Regions from separate parts of the Homo sapiens genome. Here all the other regions are linked to region 1. The links are contacts of gene promoters, found by promoter capture Hi-C in blood cells and fetal thymus (Javierre and others, 2016). All regions are on one chromosome and are shown on one strand. Each heading gives the region's core, a stretch centred on a gene start or on the middle of the fragment in contact. The rest is flanking DNA. Distances are from core to core; before and after follow the strand shown.

Region 1 (5,134 bases), core at 1,952-4,451:
CAATGCAGGCTTTGTCCCAAGGCCCTAGACCCGAAGATGGGCCCACACCCTCAGGTCTTTGGCTGCGGGCATTTGATAACCTGTTGGCGTAGACACCAGCCAGACCCAGCCCAGAGGGCACAGGACCTAGGCTCTTGCTGCCTCCTCATGGGAAAGGCCCTGTGGCTCCTGCTACATACCAGCCCCTCCAGGTTTGGATTCCCCAACCTGAAGGAGAGCTCATGAAGACTAGGCTGAGAACAAACCGCTGAGATCAAGGCCAGTTTGCCCCTGGAATTAGGATTCCCTTCTGGCAGCATCACCAACTGAGCCCCTCCTTATCACCTCCAGAAGCTGCCATGGCTTCCAAAGGGAGTGAGTGCGGCCCAGAAATCAGATCTGGGCCTAGTTGGCCTGGCCCAGTAGGCAAGCTGCTCCCAGGCCCCGCTGCAGGGGAGCTCTGGGCCCTGCCCTCTAACCCTTCAGGTGAGGGGATCTTTCGAAAACCACAGGACAGGACAGTTATTCAGGAATAGCTTGGGGACAATGCCCCTCCCTAATCAGGGCCACCTCCAAATCACTCCACGTCAGGTGCCTGCCTACTTCCCTCCCCACTCCCCAGTATTGCATGTCAGCTGCTCTCCATCATGAATGAGGTCCAGAGGGTCAGGCCCCAGGCCTGGCCTCCTTGACCCACCCAATACCTCCACCACCCTCTCCTGTGGCTTTGTCCTCTGCTTGGCTACACTCCACTTCTCTCACCTGGGGCCTCATCACTACTCACTATGGCTCCGCAGCTGAAATAATCTATGCTGCTGCCCACTGTACGGCTCCCCCTGCAGAAACCACTGCCTGCCATCCAGCTCCCTCAGGGGCTCCCATCACAGCCTGCCCCAAGGCCCTATAGTGCTGCTTTTCCTCATGCTCCCACCCTATTTTTCCCAATCAGGGAACCTAATGGAACTCACAGTGATCACAACTTACACTTACTAAGGGCTGGTTGGCTGAGTGCCAGGGCATGGCACCACCTCACCTGCTTTATGTGTCATTTAACCTTTTTAATAACCTCAAATGACAAATGAGACCAAGTACTCAATAATTCAGTAATTTGACCCCAGGAAATCCAACCCAGAGCCCTCCCCCTAACCACTGCCCTCTCCTAACAGCTGTTTCCTGGTGAATCTGCCACTACTCTAAGCTCGCTGAGGGCAGCGACTTCTCCAAAGTATTGGGCACGCAGCGAGGTGCCAATATTTCTAGAATGCAGCACAGCTGTTCTTCAGTGTTGTTAAAGGTAAGTAGGTCATGTCACTCCTCCATTTAAAACCTCCTGATGGTTTTACATCTCAGAATAAAATCTTAAATCTTCAGGACAACAGGCAAGGTCCTACACGGTCTGCTCTGGTCTCCTCCTCACACTGGCCACACCATCCAAGCACACCAGCCTCACCTGGCATTTCCTCAAACACACAAGCACAACCTACCTCGGGGCCTCTGCACAAGCTGGTCCTTCTGCCTGGAATACTACTATTCCCCTAAATATCTGTATTGTCCACTCTTTACTTCCTTCAGAAGCATCTGTTCGAATGTGACTTGAGAAGAGGCCCTTCCTGACCACTCTATCAAAAATAGCACCCACTCACCATTCTGTATCCCCTTAACCTGCTTTATTTTTATCACTGGTAATTACCACCTACCATGTATTTTTTCATTTCCCTTCTTTCCCTACCATCATCCAAATGTCAGCTCCAGAACAGGGACCATGTTTGTTCTGTTCACTGCTTTATCTCTAGAGCCTTAGAATTCTGCCTGCCAGAGTAGGAGCTCAAAACTTTGTTTTTGTGACTGACAACCTCTGATCCCTGGTCCCTCTCCAATTTGTCCCTCTCCATCAGGCAGGCCCCTCCCGTCTTCGAAGCTCCCATCATCGCCCCACCCCTCCTCTTGCCAATATCCTGAGTTCCTTTGCCTTTAATCAAACCTGTTGGAAGACGCTCCTGGCTGGATGCATTCCACTGTCCACGCTTGCTGTTTGGTGTCTCACCATAAGAAAGCCCATTCCCAAGCACAAATCCTGTCAACTCTGGGTTCTCCAAGCCAGCCTGGTTTTCACGTTAAGAAACTTTTAGCCCTCTCATGTGGTTAGCTGGCAACAGACCCTACCTTCAAAACACACAAACCGACAAGCTTGCCTGTCTCCACTCATCTCTGCATCCAGCTGCCTTTCACTAGGGAAAGGGGGGGTGCAGGGACGCCTCTTCCCCGCAGCGCTCCGGGGTCAGAGACCCCCAGCCCCTCTCACCTACATTATAGCCCTTCCCTCACCGCAGGCACAAATCTCCATCCGGCTGCGGGACCCTCTCCTCACCCTCACAGCACACTCCGTTCTAGGAACCCCACTCCGTCTCCACTCTCCGGAAGCCTGCTCGCCCAGACCTCCATGTAGCGGCATCTAAAGGCTGGGACCCTCCCCAGCTGCAAACGCTCTCCTCGAGGATTCTGCAGCACTCTCCCGGCCCTCCCGCTCCCCACTATCCCGTGGCTGGTTTGCACCGGTCCTCTACCCTCGGAAGCCCTTACGACCCTACGACTGGCAGGACGCGCGCCGACGGGCTCCCCCGCAGCTGCGTCCACTCGGTTAACCCCGGCCCCCGGGACTGTCCTCGGCGTGGCTGACTCTCTTCCCAGGCCCAGCACGGAGAGCGGCCCGCGGCAGGCGAGCGTAAATGTGTGCTAAGTGCACGAGTGCGTCCCGACTGGTAGTGGTGCATTCTTCACCCGGGAGGAGCGCCATTCCCGGCGGCCGGACCAGGAAAACGCTCCGCTTCCGGCACTGCTGGCACTTGGGGCGGGCGCTGGGCCCGACCGCGGCCGCGGACTAGCCAGGGTCCGGGAGTCCCGCGAGGCCGCCTCTCCCAGGAGGCTCCCACCGGGCAGGGGGCACCTCCCGCCACCCAGGCGGAAACACTCGGGCCGGGACCCCGCCGCAGTCGCCAGCCAGCCGGCGACCGGACGCCCGGGCGCGGGGTTGCGGGCGCCTCGCCAAGGTCACCGGCGCCGCGGCGGCAACTCACCCCGTGGAGGTGGAAGCCCTCGGCGCCGCCTGCGGGCTGCTCAGCGCTGACGCCCAGGCCCATGGCAGCGGCTCCGCTCGGCACCCAGGTCCAGTCCCGCTGCGCCTACCCGGACCGACCCGACGCCAGTAGCACCGACTCGCTCTCTCGGCGCTCGATTCCTGCGCCTTGTGACGTGAGGCGTTTTGTTCCTCCCACTCCAGACACTGGACGCTCCTAGCAACCGGCTAGCAGCTCGGTTTCCAAGGACTGTAACGCCTTCAACCGCCCGCCGCGATAGAGTGCCCACGACCCTGCCTCGGGAATCCCGCTCTGCACCGCCCCACCAGACCCGGACTCGGAGCCGCGAGCGGCCCGAGATGAGCAGCAATGACTCCTCCCTTATGGTGCGTGGCCCGGGCGCTGTCCGAGGGCTCCCTCGTGACTCCCCGCCCCTGACCCAGAGACCGTCTGCCCTGCTACTCTCCTGCCACCCTTCGCTGTCCTCAGTTATATCAGGCGGTCCTGCCTTTTCTTGCCCCACTCCCCCTGGCAAGGGCGTCTTCTCCGGTGGCTTCTGCGCACCCTGAGCCCCAAATTAGCATCCCCGTTTCTTGAGCTACCCCAAACCAGCTCATCCAATCACTATCATTATCCCTTCTTGTCATCATCCCTTCTTCCACCCAGCTCACTCTCGCCTGCGCCTCCCACCCCAGTTGATGGCTTCACCATTTAATCTCCTAGCCTTAACTCATACCTCTTCCCTATACTCATCTTCTAATCCTGTCTACAAGAAATGCCAGCTCCTTGATGTCTCCTGGGTTTTCTTTTTATCTTTTTATCTTCTAGCCCAGAACCAGCACCATCTCTCCCCCCTGAGAGCCTGCAACAGCCTCCCTCCCATCTGGTTTCTCTGCTGTGGCTCTTTTCAGCATCAGTAGTCCCTGCTGCCACCACGGCACACACCCCCCACATGCAAAAGCAGCCAGAGTGGTTGTTGCAAAAATGTACATCTGAAAACATCCCTCGCCTTAAAACCATTCTGCTTTCTGTTACCCTTAGGATGGTGTCTGGGCTCTTTCATATGGCCCATGAGGATGTTTACAGTCCAACCACATCTGCTCCCAACCTAGCACCCACAAACCTTAGAGGAAGTGAAACTTAACTTTAAAATCTCAGCCCCTTTGTCAAGCTGTAGTTTCCATGGGCTTAAGCTTCCTTAGCTGTGAAAGATACTGAGAGGACCATGCACAGGATAGTGGATATGAAGCCCACAATAACTTGTAACTACAATTCGTATAATTTTTCTTATTATTTGTCCTCATTTTTCCCCCCTTATTCCCTTCCTAAGACAAAGCCTTGGTTGAATTCCCCATCATAGTTGAACCAGAATCTGTTGGTAATCCCCCAAACAAACACCTCCAAACTCTTTCCTGGGAAAACTGCATGGAGCTGCTCCCAGGGCTGTTAGAGGACAGGATGAGGCCTGAATGTTTCCTCTTTCTCTTCCCTTTGCAGAACTGAGGAGGAGCAGGGGATAGGGAAGGGAGCAGGTCTCATCCCATCTGGGACAGAACAGAGACAGAGAAGGGACTGGGCTATTGCAGTTATGTCTTCCTTCATACAGGCTGGGATCATTTACTATAGCCAGGAAAAGTACTTCCACCATGTGCAGCAGGCTGCAGCTGTGGGCCTGGAAAAATTCAGCAATGACCCTGTGTTGAAGTTCTTTAAAGCCTATGGAGTCCTCAAAGAAGGTAAGGACTTGGCAGTGTTGGTCTTGTGACCCCAGGCACTAGCTGGGCCCTAACACTCTGGCTCCACCTGGATGCCTTCTTGTATCCTAGTTATGGTCCCATAAAAACAGTTTCACACTCAGCGGCTGGATTCCCACGGGAATCCACAGAGGCCTACGTAATCCATATCTAGTTGACTTTTGAGACCTCAGAGCGCTGACTATCCCTGCTCTGCACCTCGGGTTCCCTCTCTGTAAAATGAGTGGTTGGAGAGATAGCTGCATGATTCTTGAAGTAATTCCAGGCCTGGAAGCTGAGAACTGGTAATGCAGGCAAAGGAGGGGGAAGAGGTAGGTGTGAGGACAG
Region 2 (5,134 bases), core at 1,870-4,369, 61 kb after region 1:
TTGCCCAGAAGCCAAAAGTTCAGGGTAATCAAGATACTGAATGTGCCACTGAGATGCTGCTTGAACTAGCCACCTACATCAAAGAGCTATCAGTACCACAAAGGGATGCTGTATCTCATCTCTTCTTTCAAAACCTCATGTGAATATCTTTCCTTCAGCAACCAGCATACTTTGTTCAACAGTGTCTTTGACTTACTGTCCATTTCTCTACACAGTATTCTGAGAAGACATAATAGGAGAGGCCATGAATTGAAGGCATTGACTCTTCTTGCTATTTGTTTCTATATATATCGAGATTAGGAGCCAGATTGTTGCCTGACAGCTGGTCTTTGTGAATACAGTGGTGTATGGTTGACATTCAGCTGCAAGTTTTTTTTTTTTTTTTTAAATCTGTGAATTGATGCTGGTTGGTCAGTCAGTATACCAAAAGATAATAGCACACTTAAAACCAAGATGAGGCGGCTCTGCCTATGGAGTAGCCATTATTTTATTCCTTTACTTTCTTAATAAACTTGTTTTCACTTTAAAAAAAAAAAAGGCTTGTTTTAGGAAGCCTGATTTTAGGAAGGCTTGTTTACAAGGGGACTATTTGCAGTCTTGCAGATATAGAAGTATGCCAAGAGATGATACAATAAACTGGAGAAGCAGTAGCAAAGCTGTTACCACCAACAGGCCTGAAGAAAAAAAGGGTGGAAGGTGTCATTAGAAGGGAGAGAACCGATGGAGTGGGCTGTCTTGGGAGGACCAGTGGCCTCCTGTTGAAGGATGCATCCAACCCATGGTGACTCACAGGCAGGAAGCCAGGGGATTAAGTGCCCTGATCTCACTCTCTTCCTTCTCCATTTCCTGCTGGGGATTGCCATTGCTGAAACCCAACTGGGAGCCAGAAGCTCATTCATCTAATCTTGCAAAGGAATTCGGTGATAAACAGCATAAAAAGTTAACAAGCACATTTCCCTCATGTGTCTTGAAAATATGTGAAGAGCTGACTCACACTCCACACACCAGTGGTGCACCCATTAGCAATGTCTGCAACTATCAGTGATGGAAAACAAGTTACAGTGGCTTTAAACATAGAGAGGTTGACTTCTATACTATAGCAGGCAGTCTTGAAGTAGTCAACCACTGACATTCAGTGGCTCAATAATGGCAGTGCGGATGTGCCTACAATTATTTCAGCTTTTACCTTGTACTGGTTGCTTCATATTTGCAAGATGGCTGCCCAGCCCCAGGCATGGTCAACTTAGGAAGAAGGAGGGAAAGAGGTACCAGCATGTATGCCTAATTATTAAGAAAACAAAAATTTTCAAGAAGTACCCTCAGCAGACTTCCCATCACATTTCATTGATCAGAATGGGGCTTCGTGGTCTCCTATAGTAGCAAGGAAGACTGGAAAGGTGGAAAATGGGTTGATCATGCCTGATTTAGATGACTTGTAATTAATTGCTTGAGACTGGAGACTTTGGTGCATGGATCAAAATCAGGGATTTGTCATCAAGAAGGCAGGGATGGGATGAATTCTTGACAATGAATGAGGCTTACCACAAGTAGTTTTATTCAACAATGAAGCCAATTGTGTGCTAGCACTCACTCAGGACAGCAATTGCTCTTTCACAGAATGTGCCATTGATTTTCTGTGACAGCCAAAAGTGTTGTTTGATCCAGTAATTTCATCAAGAGCTTGCTCTGCTTTTTCTGTAATCATCATATTCCCTGGTAGCCTATGACTCAGTTTATAAGCCATGATGTGAATTGTGTTGATTTTCACTGTAAGTTGGACAAGTTTAATGATGCCTTTGTGGTTTCAATCTTTTCTCTGTCTTTAGTGAGAAAGTGCATCCCTATCACAGTAGACTTTATTTACTCACATTCAGGAGAAGCTTGATTGGTTTTCTAACTAGCTTACAAGGTCTGATGCAAACAAATATGATGCAAAGGCCTCACTGGGCATCATGCCACTATCTGACAAGTTTCACAATAGATGATGCCTCAAGAGGAAATGCATTACAAGCTAACAAAATCCTATTTTTGGATATTCATTCCCATACCCTTATTTCTGATTCGTACTTTTTTTCCTACTTGTATAAAATCATCTGATTCAACCACTCATCAGCCCTAATATATATAATCACACTTTATATTGCAGTATTTTTGTTACTATTTTCAATAATACTTTTATTCTTTAATGAACCTTTTTTGAACGATGGATCTATCTTTATGATTTGGGGCCATACTGCCATTATTATATGATATAATAACAATAATAGTAACAATAAAATGGAAATATAATAAATATAAATAATACCATGAAAACAGTATGAAAATGTTTTATCAAGTTGGACTACAGCTAATGGTATTTATTCTCTTTACTAAATACAAGCTGAGCTAAACTGCTTAATTCAGCTCTGATGGCCCAGGTGCATGCTACAAGACCATGATAATTATTACAAAGGTATTGAGATTTCTATGGAAATTATCATTGATCTCACATTTATGAAATGTATGTGAACAAAATTTCTTGTCTGTGTAGCAACCTCTGTGTAGCCATGCCCTGCTTGTATCCCCTTGGCCTTCATAGTTCTCACACCTCCTGATGGTTTCTCACTGCAAACACAGGTGACTCTCTGCCTGAGTGATGTTTCTGGTCACAGGACTATGCTCCACAGGCACACAGGGCAGGCTGGACATGCCCCTGAATACAGCCCTTAGCTGACAATGGGTTAGGGTAGACACTGAGGGGTGTTCCAGACAGCATCCCAGAGGTCCCAGGGAGATTGAGCTGCAGCTGCCCACCCTGGTAATTTACTCATCAACACACCCTGTGTTGGTTTCCTTCCCTTCCCTGCCCATCTTCCTTTCTTTCCATGAGTGCTTCCTGGGATCCAAGTGAAACACTCAAATCTTTGTCTCTGGGTTTGCTTCTGAGGGAAATGAGCTCGAGGCAGTTTTTTCTTTGAAATATCCCTGCCGGCTCTGAGATTCATGGAACACATTTTAGGAAAAACTATTCTAGACAACTCTGCTCATTTCATCAATGAGCGGACTGTGGCCCAGAGTCGGGGCCCTGAAGTGCCTAGGGTTACTCTATGGTGAGGGACAGACCCAGCGGCCCTGGTGTTTCTATGGAACCAGCATAGACTGATGTCCTGATGCCCTTGGGGGCTGCCTTGGAGGTGTAACCTGAACTCCCCCAACCAGGCAAGACACACAGGGGCCTCAGCCCTTCTTAGACTTACCTGGAAGATCCACTGAGGACAGGGAGCTCCTGGCATAAGCTGGGGCAGGAGGGGAATAAGAGAAGAGGAAGCTAAGGCTGGAAGGGGTCTCCAGCCAGTGAAGGGCTGGGCCTGACCACTCTGTACCTCCTCTCTCCCCTGAACCCCTCTCACCTCGCTTTCCCAGCTCTTGTGTTTTTCTCCTTCCGCTCCTGCCCTCACCATTGAAATGAAGGGTTTTCTGGTCTGTTCCTTCCTGGATCTTTCCTAAAGAAGTCCCCACACAAACATCCCACACAGAGATCTCTTCGGCTTATGATGGAGTTAAGTCCTGATAAACCCATCATAAATTGAAAATATCATTAGTCAAAAATGCATTTAATACACCTAACCTACTAAACAACATAGCTTAGCCTCTCCTACTTTAAATGTGTTCAGAACATTTATACTAGCCTACAGCTGGGCAAAATCATCTAACACTTTTAAGACTATCTTACAATAAAGTGTTGCATATGTCCTGTAATTTATTAAATACTAAAAGTGAAAAATAGAATAGTTGTATGGGTACTTGAAGTACGGTTTCTACTAAATGTGTATAGCTTTCACACTATAGTGAAGTACAAAAATTGTAAATAGAACCATAGTAAGTAGGAGATCATCTGTGTACACACTCGTTTCTCTCTGGGATTAGACCCTGGCTCTGTGGATCTCAAAGAAACTGAGAGGGGGCTGGGCGTGGTGGCTCACACTTATAATCCCAGCACTTTGGGAGGCCAAGGAGGGTGAATCGCCTGAGGTCAGAAGTTCGAGACCAGCCCGGCCAACGTGGTGAGACCTTGTCTCTACTAAATATACAAAAATTAACCGGGCATGGTGGGGCATGCCTGTAATCCCAGCTACTCGGTAGGTTGAGGCAGGAGAATTGCTTGAACCCAGGAGGCAGAGGTTGTAGTGAGCCGAGATTGCGCCACTGCACTCCAGCCTGGACAACAAGAGTGAAACTCTGTCTCAAAAAAAAAAAAAAAAAAAAAAAAAAAAGAAGAAGAAGAAGAAGAAGAAAAAGAAAAAGAAACTGAGATGGATTCATGTCCCACAGAACAAGGCATTTTTCTCTGTGCTTCATCTTTTCCTATTTCCTATGAGAGAAGCTTGTGACCCTGTCAACCATTTCCAGAAGAAGAAATTGGCTTCTAACCTAGTTTTCTAAATAACCGATTGGAAATGTCTAACCTATGGACCTTTTCTTATTTCCATTTGACAGACTAAGGCCAAGAAAGAGGTTATATCATGAACCCATGACCTGACTCCAGACAATGATTTTGCCATTCCAACTTCAGAGGAAGCTTTGGAAGGAGTTTAAACCATAAGCTTACCCTCTCAATCATCCACTACCCCAAGGTAAGTAGGGCCTATTAGAATCATGGCCCTGCTGGTAAAATCACCCGCTCTCCTAGCTGTGTCCTGTCCAGATCCCTCACCTCAGGTTTTGTTTGTTTGTTTGTTTGTTTGTTTTTTGAGACAGAGTCTCACCTCTCACCCTGTTGCCCAGGCTGGACTGCAGTGGCACAATCTCAGCTCACTGCAACCTCCACCTCCTGGGTTCAGGCGATTCTCCTGCCTCAGCCTCCCAAGTAGCTGGGACTACAGGCACCTGCCACCATGCCCGGCTAATTTTTGTATTTTTAGTAGAGACAAGGTTTCACCATGTTGGCCAGGCTGGTCTCGAAATCCTGATCTCAGATGATCCACCCGCCTTGGCCTCCCAAAGTGCTGGGATTACCGGCGTGAGCCACTGCACCTGGCTCTCACCTTAGTTCTTATGGGGCCAACTGGGATGTCATCCTAAGGAACTGGAGCATAAATGTCCAGGGCCAGCTCTTGCAAGAGGAAATTCATTTATATAACAGTCACTGAATCCT
Region 3 (5,134 bases), core at 1,114-3,613, 34 kb after region 1:
GGCACCTTTGCTGTGCTCCCAATACCAGTCTTCCTTGATGTCATTAAGGATGCCAATAATGGGACAGTCTGGCCTCAGGACAATCAGGAAGCCTAGGATCTCCCAATGTGGCTTTCCCGGGTCCCTTCCCCTCTCTGGGTCTTAGTGTCCCCATTTGTGGCAGGAAATTAGATGTCTCCCAAATCATGGCACAACTCTCTGCCAGTGATACACAGCAAACATTTTAAAGTTTAATAACTATGTGTTTTTAAAAACACATCATTTTTACATGGAAAACCAACTAGCACAGAAAAGTCAGGAATTTATGGGTGCTGTTCCATGGGATGGGTTTAACTTTTAAGCATACTGATATAATTGATTTAAAGAAAAATTATTTAGAGTAAGTAGAATGCAGATATGATATGGGCAGAGTTTTCAAGAGCAGTTGTCCAGTGACTAAGGTTTGGGAACAGTGGACAGATAAGGGTCCCTTTGGAACAGTGTAACTCGGATGGTGCTGAGCCTTGTTTTTATAACACACTGCTGATCACATACATGGTTTGTTGATATGAGCTGGGGATCTGGAATGCTTTCTCCAGGTTACTACCATTTTTCCTACGGGAAAACCCAGTCCCCTTTCTGTGATCTGCTTTACAACCCAGTTTTGTTGGGACAGGTTTGTTGACAGGTCTATCTATATGGAGAATGATCCTGTAAAGGGATTGTACATTAATCATGTTTTTGCTGTAAAACCTAGATTGTCTTCATTTATCTAAAAACAGAGAAACAAAAACTAAGAACCCTGTGGCCCTAGATGGGAGTAGGCAGGCCTCAGTCCAGCCATGGGCTGAGTCCATGTGGTGGAAGCCTGTTGGGACTTCCTGCCAGAGTACTGGAGCTGAGGGCTGCCACCCAGACCACCAGGCCAATCAGAGTGACCCTGGGAACCCTTGAAGAACCCAGGTTTTGGATTGTGCTTGCTGAAGTAATCGCTACAGAAGGGTGTCTAGGCACCAGTGAAGAAGAGACAGGACAACTCAATGTACCAGGGTACTCTAACCTGAGAAGCCTATTCCTAGTTAAGCTGGTTACAGGGACATACTGCCGCACCATAGGCCAGACTCCAAACTATGAGTCCTCTAATGGCACTGATATGGCCATGTGGTCATGACCATGCATGTCCAGAGGCAAGAGACAGATACCTGAAGGGTGACAGGACAGGCAAAAAAAGGATTAAACATTCAGAGAAAGAATGGCAGAAACATGAAAATCAATGCAAGTTGCAAACATACACAGGACTTGCATGTTCCAGGCACTCTTTAAGGGCTTTGTAAATATGAAATAAACAAGTTTATGAGGTGAGTAGTGTTACTGTTTGCATGTAGTATTGAGGACACCCAGGCACAGAGGGAGTAATTTGCACAAATCACCTCACTAGGTAGCAGAAAATCTGAGATTCAAGCCCAGCATTCTGGCTCTGTGCTCTTACCAGTTAAGCCAAAGAGATGAGTGAGCCCAGTACAGACCAAGGCAGAGAATTAGAGCAAGGAGACCCAAATCAGTTCTCCTCTGGCGGTTCCTCCTTCCAGCTCTTGTACAAATCACTATCATTCCTAAGGGGGAAGTCAACCTTTCTCAGGCCCCCAGACTGGGGCTCCCCAGAGCAGGGTGTGGCCTACTCCTCTGGCCTGCTGCCCAGCTGAGCTGCCAGGGACAGGTCAGACAGGTCTGGCTGGTGCAGAGGGATGAGGTTCTGCAGCTTCCCCCTGCCCTTTCCGCTGCCCCCCTGCTCAAGTCCCCAGGGACCACAGCTGCTACGTAAGGCCATCACCAGGCCTTGACCAGGCACATGCCCTTACCCTGCCTCCACCCAGGTTGGTGAATTCACCCTCAGGACAAGGCCTCAGCTCAGTGTGGGTGTGTAGGAAGAAGGGTGCCCTTACCCATCCCCAGCAGATAGCCCCATGTCAGAAGACCCTGGTGCTGCTCCTCCCCACCACCCCAGGTCACCACTGTAGAGGAACAGGTTACTCCAAAGGAAAAACTGCTCTATCTGCCTGGCCAGCCTCTCAGCTGGCTTCCTGCCTCCAACTTGACTGGCTTGCCTGGAAAGAGGCCCAATATGCTGGGTGTGCCTACTCCTACCCCTCAACACAGCCTGTGTCCATACTCCCCTCTGCAGGGCTTGTCCCCCATCCCCTTTGCCCCTGCTTCCCACCCCACAAATACATACCACATTGCTAAAAATAAAGCCTCTTTATTGGTACCTGTAAGCTCAGGTACAAGGTGTTCCCACAAGCACACAGGCTGGCAAGGCCTCCTGGGCAAGGGGCAGGCCCAGAGCCTGCGTTTCTTGGCACAGACACAGAGAGAAATGGAATAAATTATAGTTCTGACACTCAGGGACAATGTAGAAATTATGATGCAAAATTAAACATTAGCAAACAAAGGGTATAAAAACCCTCAGGAGCCACCCCTCGCCAACTGGCCTCAGGGCATGGGCAGGTGGGCCACGCTGAAGTGCAGTGCCCAGAAAGCCCTGAGATAATAGTCTGGGGCATGGTTCGCGCCCCGAGGTAGGCCCTTTGCCCTCTCTGGGCTTCCTGTTTCCTCCTTCCCCCTCCTACATCCCTGGGCCTGGAATAAAGGCTGTGGCCTTTGGGAAGGGGGAAGATGGAACAGAGGGCAGGAAGTGGAGGGGGCAGGGTGGGGCAGAAGGGAGTTTTGGTCACAGCTGTTCAGCCCAGGCTCTCCCCCTGCCTAGATGATGTCCTTGGCCAGCACCTGCCCACAGAGCCATCTAGGAGCCAGGCAGCAGACATAGATCACAGAGCTCAAATCCACACCTAGTCTGCACCAAAGCCCAGGCAGGGCAAGGTGTAGGACTACAAGGCAAAAGGGGCTCTTGAGGGCCTGTGCCCACCCCACCCCTGGCATTACCCACCAGCCAAAGAAGTGCAACCAAAGCCTCCTCAATCTCCAAATAAATTATGGAAATAAATTATAGTCTTCACAGTCCAGTGGATTTAGCCACCCATGGGTCTAGGGCTCAGGGTGGCAGAAGCCACCTGATTTCAGCCCTGTCTCACCGTCTTTGGGCTAAGGAACATCACGCAAAGACCGAAAAGTGGTCTGCCAAGCTCCAGAGGAGCCACATTTTCTCCTCTTCCAGGCTCACGTTGTGGAGATAGAAGAGCAAGCTGTGGGTGTGGGGGGCCGGGCAGCTGAAAGGGGAAGCCCCCTCCCCCCAGTCCTCTCTTCAGCACAGAAAAGTTAAAACAAATAAATAAATCCAGAGAATTGTTTGAAAACCAGGAGTGTGCACATGGCACCTGTGGGTGAGCCAGCCAGTGGGAGACTGTTACGCAGACTCTGGGGAGCCCCATAATTACAAGAAAGCAGCAACAGGTCTCTTGGGGCTGGGAAAAGACATCCTGGTCCTCACACCGGCACAGGCTCCATTAGAGATGCTGGGACAGTGTCCTCAAACTGGCTGTCAATAAAGGGATCTAGGGCTTCGGCGGCTGGCTCGGAGAAGCCCATGAGGGACTCCAGGAAGCAACTGCTGGCATCCCCAGGTGGAGACAGGCCAGGCAGGGGGAAGTGAGGTGCCTCGATGTTGTCCAGGCTGTCAGACACCTTCTGTGATGTGTAGTGAGGCCCCAGACTATAATCTGGCAGAGCCTGGAGTAACTCAAAGGAGTCACAAGAAGACAAGCTGAGATCCACTGAGCTACTCCGGCCAGCGTCCATGCTGGGTGGCACTGAGGTGCCAGGAAGGCTGCCTTCCCTTGACCCTTCAAGGCCACCATTTAGGAAGCAGCTGGCATCCAGGTTGGCATTCTCATCCAGGACGCCTGATGTGAAGCTACAGCCAGAATAGCTGTGGGTCCAGCTGGCCAGGCCACCAGGGTCACTAGTACCAAAGATGTCAGCTGGATGGAAGCAGCTGAGGTTGTCCAGGTTCCCCACGCTCCCTTCCTCCTCTTCCTCCTCCTCCCCACCGAAGTCAGAGTCACTGAAACTCAAGATGCGTGCCAGGCTGTCATCATCAACGCCAGGCTGGAAGCCAGGGCCAGGCAGGCCTGGGTGGGTGGGGCAGTCAGGAGCCTCACTAGTGCCCGATGCTGATGAAGATGCTGTAGAAGAATCAGTCATGTCGCTGCTGCAGCTGTTGTCTCCCAGCTCATTGTTCATGGGGGGCTTGGCCAGTGGGAAAGTAGGGACCAGGGCCTCCTCACCAGGGCTGGGTGGGCTGCCCTGGGCAGGGGCCTCCAGCTCCCTAAAGCTCTCAGCCTCCTGTTCCAACTGCAGGCGGGTGAGTGTGTGGATGAAATGGGTCTGAACTCTTGCCTGATTAAATTCCACACGGCCCATGGGGTTCTCACAGCCCTCCCTGCAGCAGCCACAGGGGAATGCTGTGTGGTCCATCTGCAGAGAAAAGTAGAGGTACAAGTGAGGGTTCTGTGGAGTGCAAAGAAGTCCCCACGCTCAGGATCCCCATCCCAGTCCAGCCACCACACCTGGCACTTGATGCCTGCCAGGCTGCAGCTGCAGGTCTCAGGGTCGCAGATCCTATCGCAGTGACAGCCACAATCCTCCCGGGATTGGCGCAGTGCCTGCAGCTCCCGCTTCTCCTCCCGATCGATCCTTCGCACACCTGAAGCCCTCAGCAGAGCTCGACGTCGCCGGGCTGGGTAGGGCTGTAGGAAGCTCACTTCTTCCAACCGGCCACCTGCCACAGCGACTGCCAAGTCCTCCTCCACAGAGGCGTCATCAATGGCATCCACCACAGGTGGCAGCCCTGCCTCTGCCTGGGGTACCCCAGCTGCCGAAAGCTGCATCCACAGGAAAGAGGGATGTAAGAAGCACAGACATGGACATGGGCTTAGCCCTACTGTCACTAGACAAACCCTCCCCAAGTGCTTACCCCCCCACTACTCGTGCTTAATCTGCGATGGGCACTGTGTGTCAGACAGTGAACAGGACAGCCAAGAAAACTGCCCTCAGGGCATTTGAAAAAAAAAAAAAGAGATATCCTACTCATGGCATTCCCTAGATCATGGACAGACTCCCTTTCCTAACCAGACAGATACGCACCCCCTCCAGTTCATATCAACTTCACATCCCCCTCTCCAAAAAGTTCAGATTCAGG

The links. The method cuts DNA at HindIII sites, captures the fragments that hold promoters and counts their contacts. A CHiCAGO score of 5 or more calls a contact.
Region 2: a contact is called between a fragment that was not itself captured here and the fragment with the promoter of GORASP1 in region 1, in 7 of 17 cell types (monocytes, total B cells, naive B cells and 4 more). The highest score is 12.6, in monocytes.
Region 3: a contact is called between a fragment that was not itself captured here and the fragment with the promoter of GORASP1 in region 1, in 6 of 17 cell types (total B cells, monocytes, naive B cells and 3 more). The highest score is 10.8, in total B cells.

The regions. Positions count from the first base shown.
Region 1 is chr3:39,104,426-39,109,559 of GRCh38, forward strand. GORASP1 (golgi reassembly stacking protein 1) reads right to left here and starts at 3,202. Exons shown (of 9, transcript NM_031899.4): 1 at 3,054-3,202. The coding sequence starts at 3,116. It overlaps TTC21A (tetratricopeptide repeat domain 21A), which reads left to right and starts at 3,255. Exons shown (of 29, transcript NM_001366900.1): 1 at 3,255-3,439; 2 at 4,660-4,789. The coding sequence starts at 3,413. RefSeq lists a silencer at 2,832-3,151. The HindIII fragment of the contact is 2,080 bases long and covers 2,165-4,244 here.
Region 2 is chr3:39,165,461-39,170,594 of GRCh38, forward strand. It overlaps LOC101928263 (a long non-coding RNA gene), which reads left to right. Exons shown (of 3, transcript XR_245209.4): 2 at 4,477-4,613. Among named protein-coding and RNA genes, the nearest start is that of CSRNP1, 14 kb to the left of the region's middle. RefSeq lists an enhancer at 698-992. The HindIII fragment of the contact is 2,483 bases long and covers 1,879-4,361 here.
Region 3 is chr3:39,139,635-39,144,768 of GRCh38, forward strand. CSRNP1 (cysteine and serine rich nuclear protein 1) reads right to left here. Exons shown (of 5, transcript NM_033027.4): 4 at 4,503-4,817; 5 at 2,221-4,410. The coding sequence ends at 3,421. Among named protein-coding and RNA genes, the nearest start is that of MIR6822, 4.0 kb to the left of the region's middle. The HindIII fragment of the contact is 8,062 bases long and covers 1-5,134 here.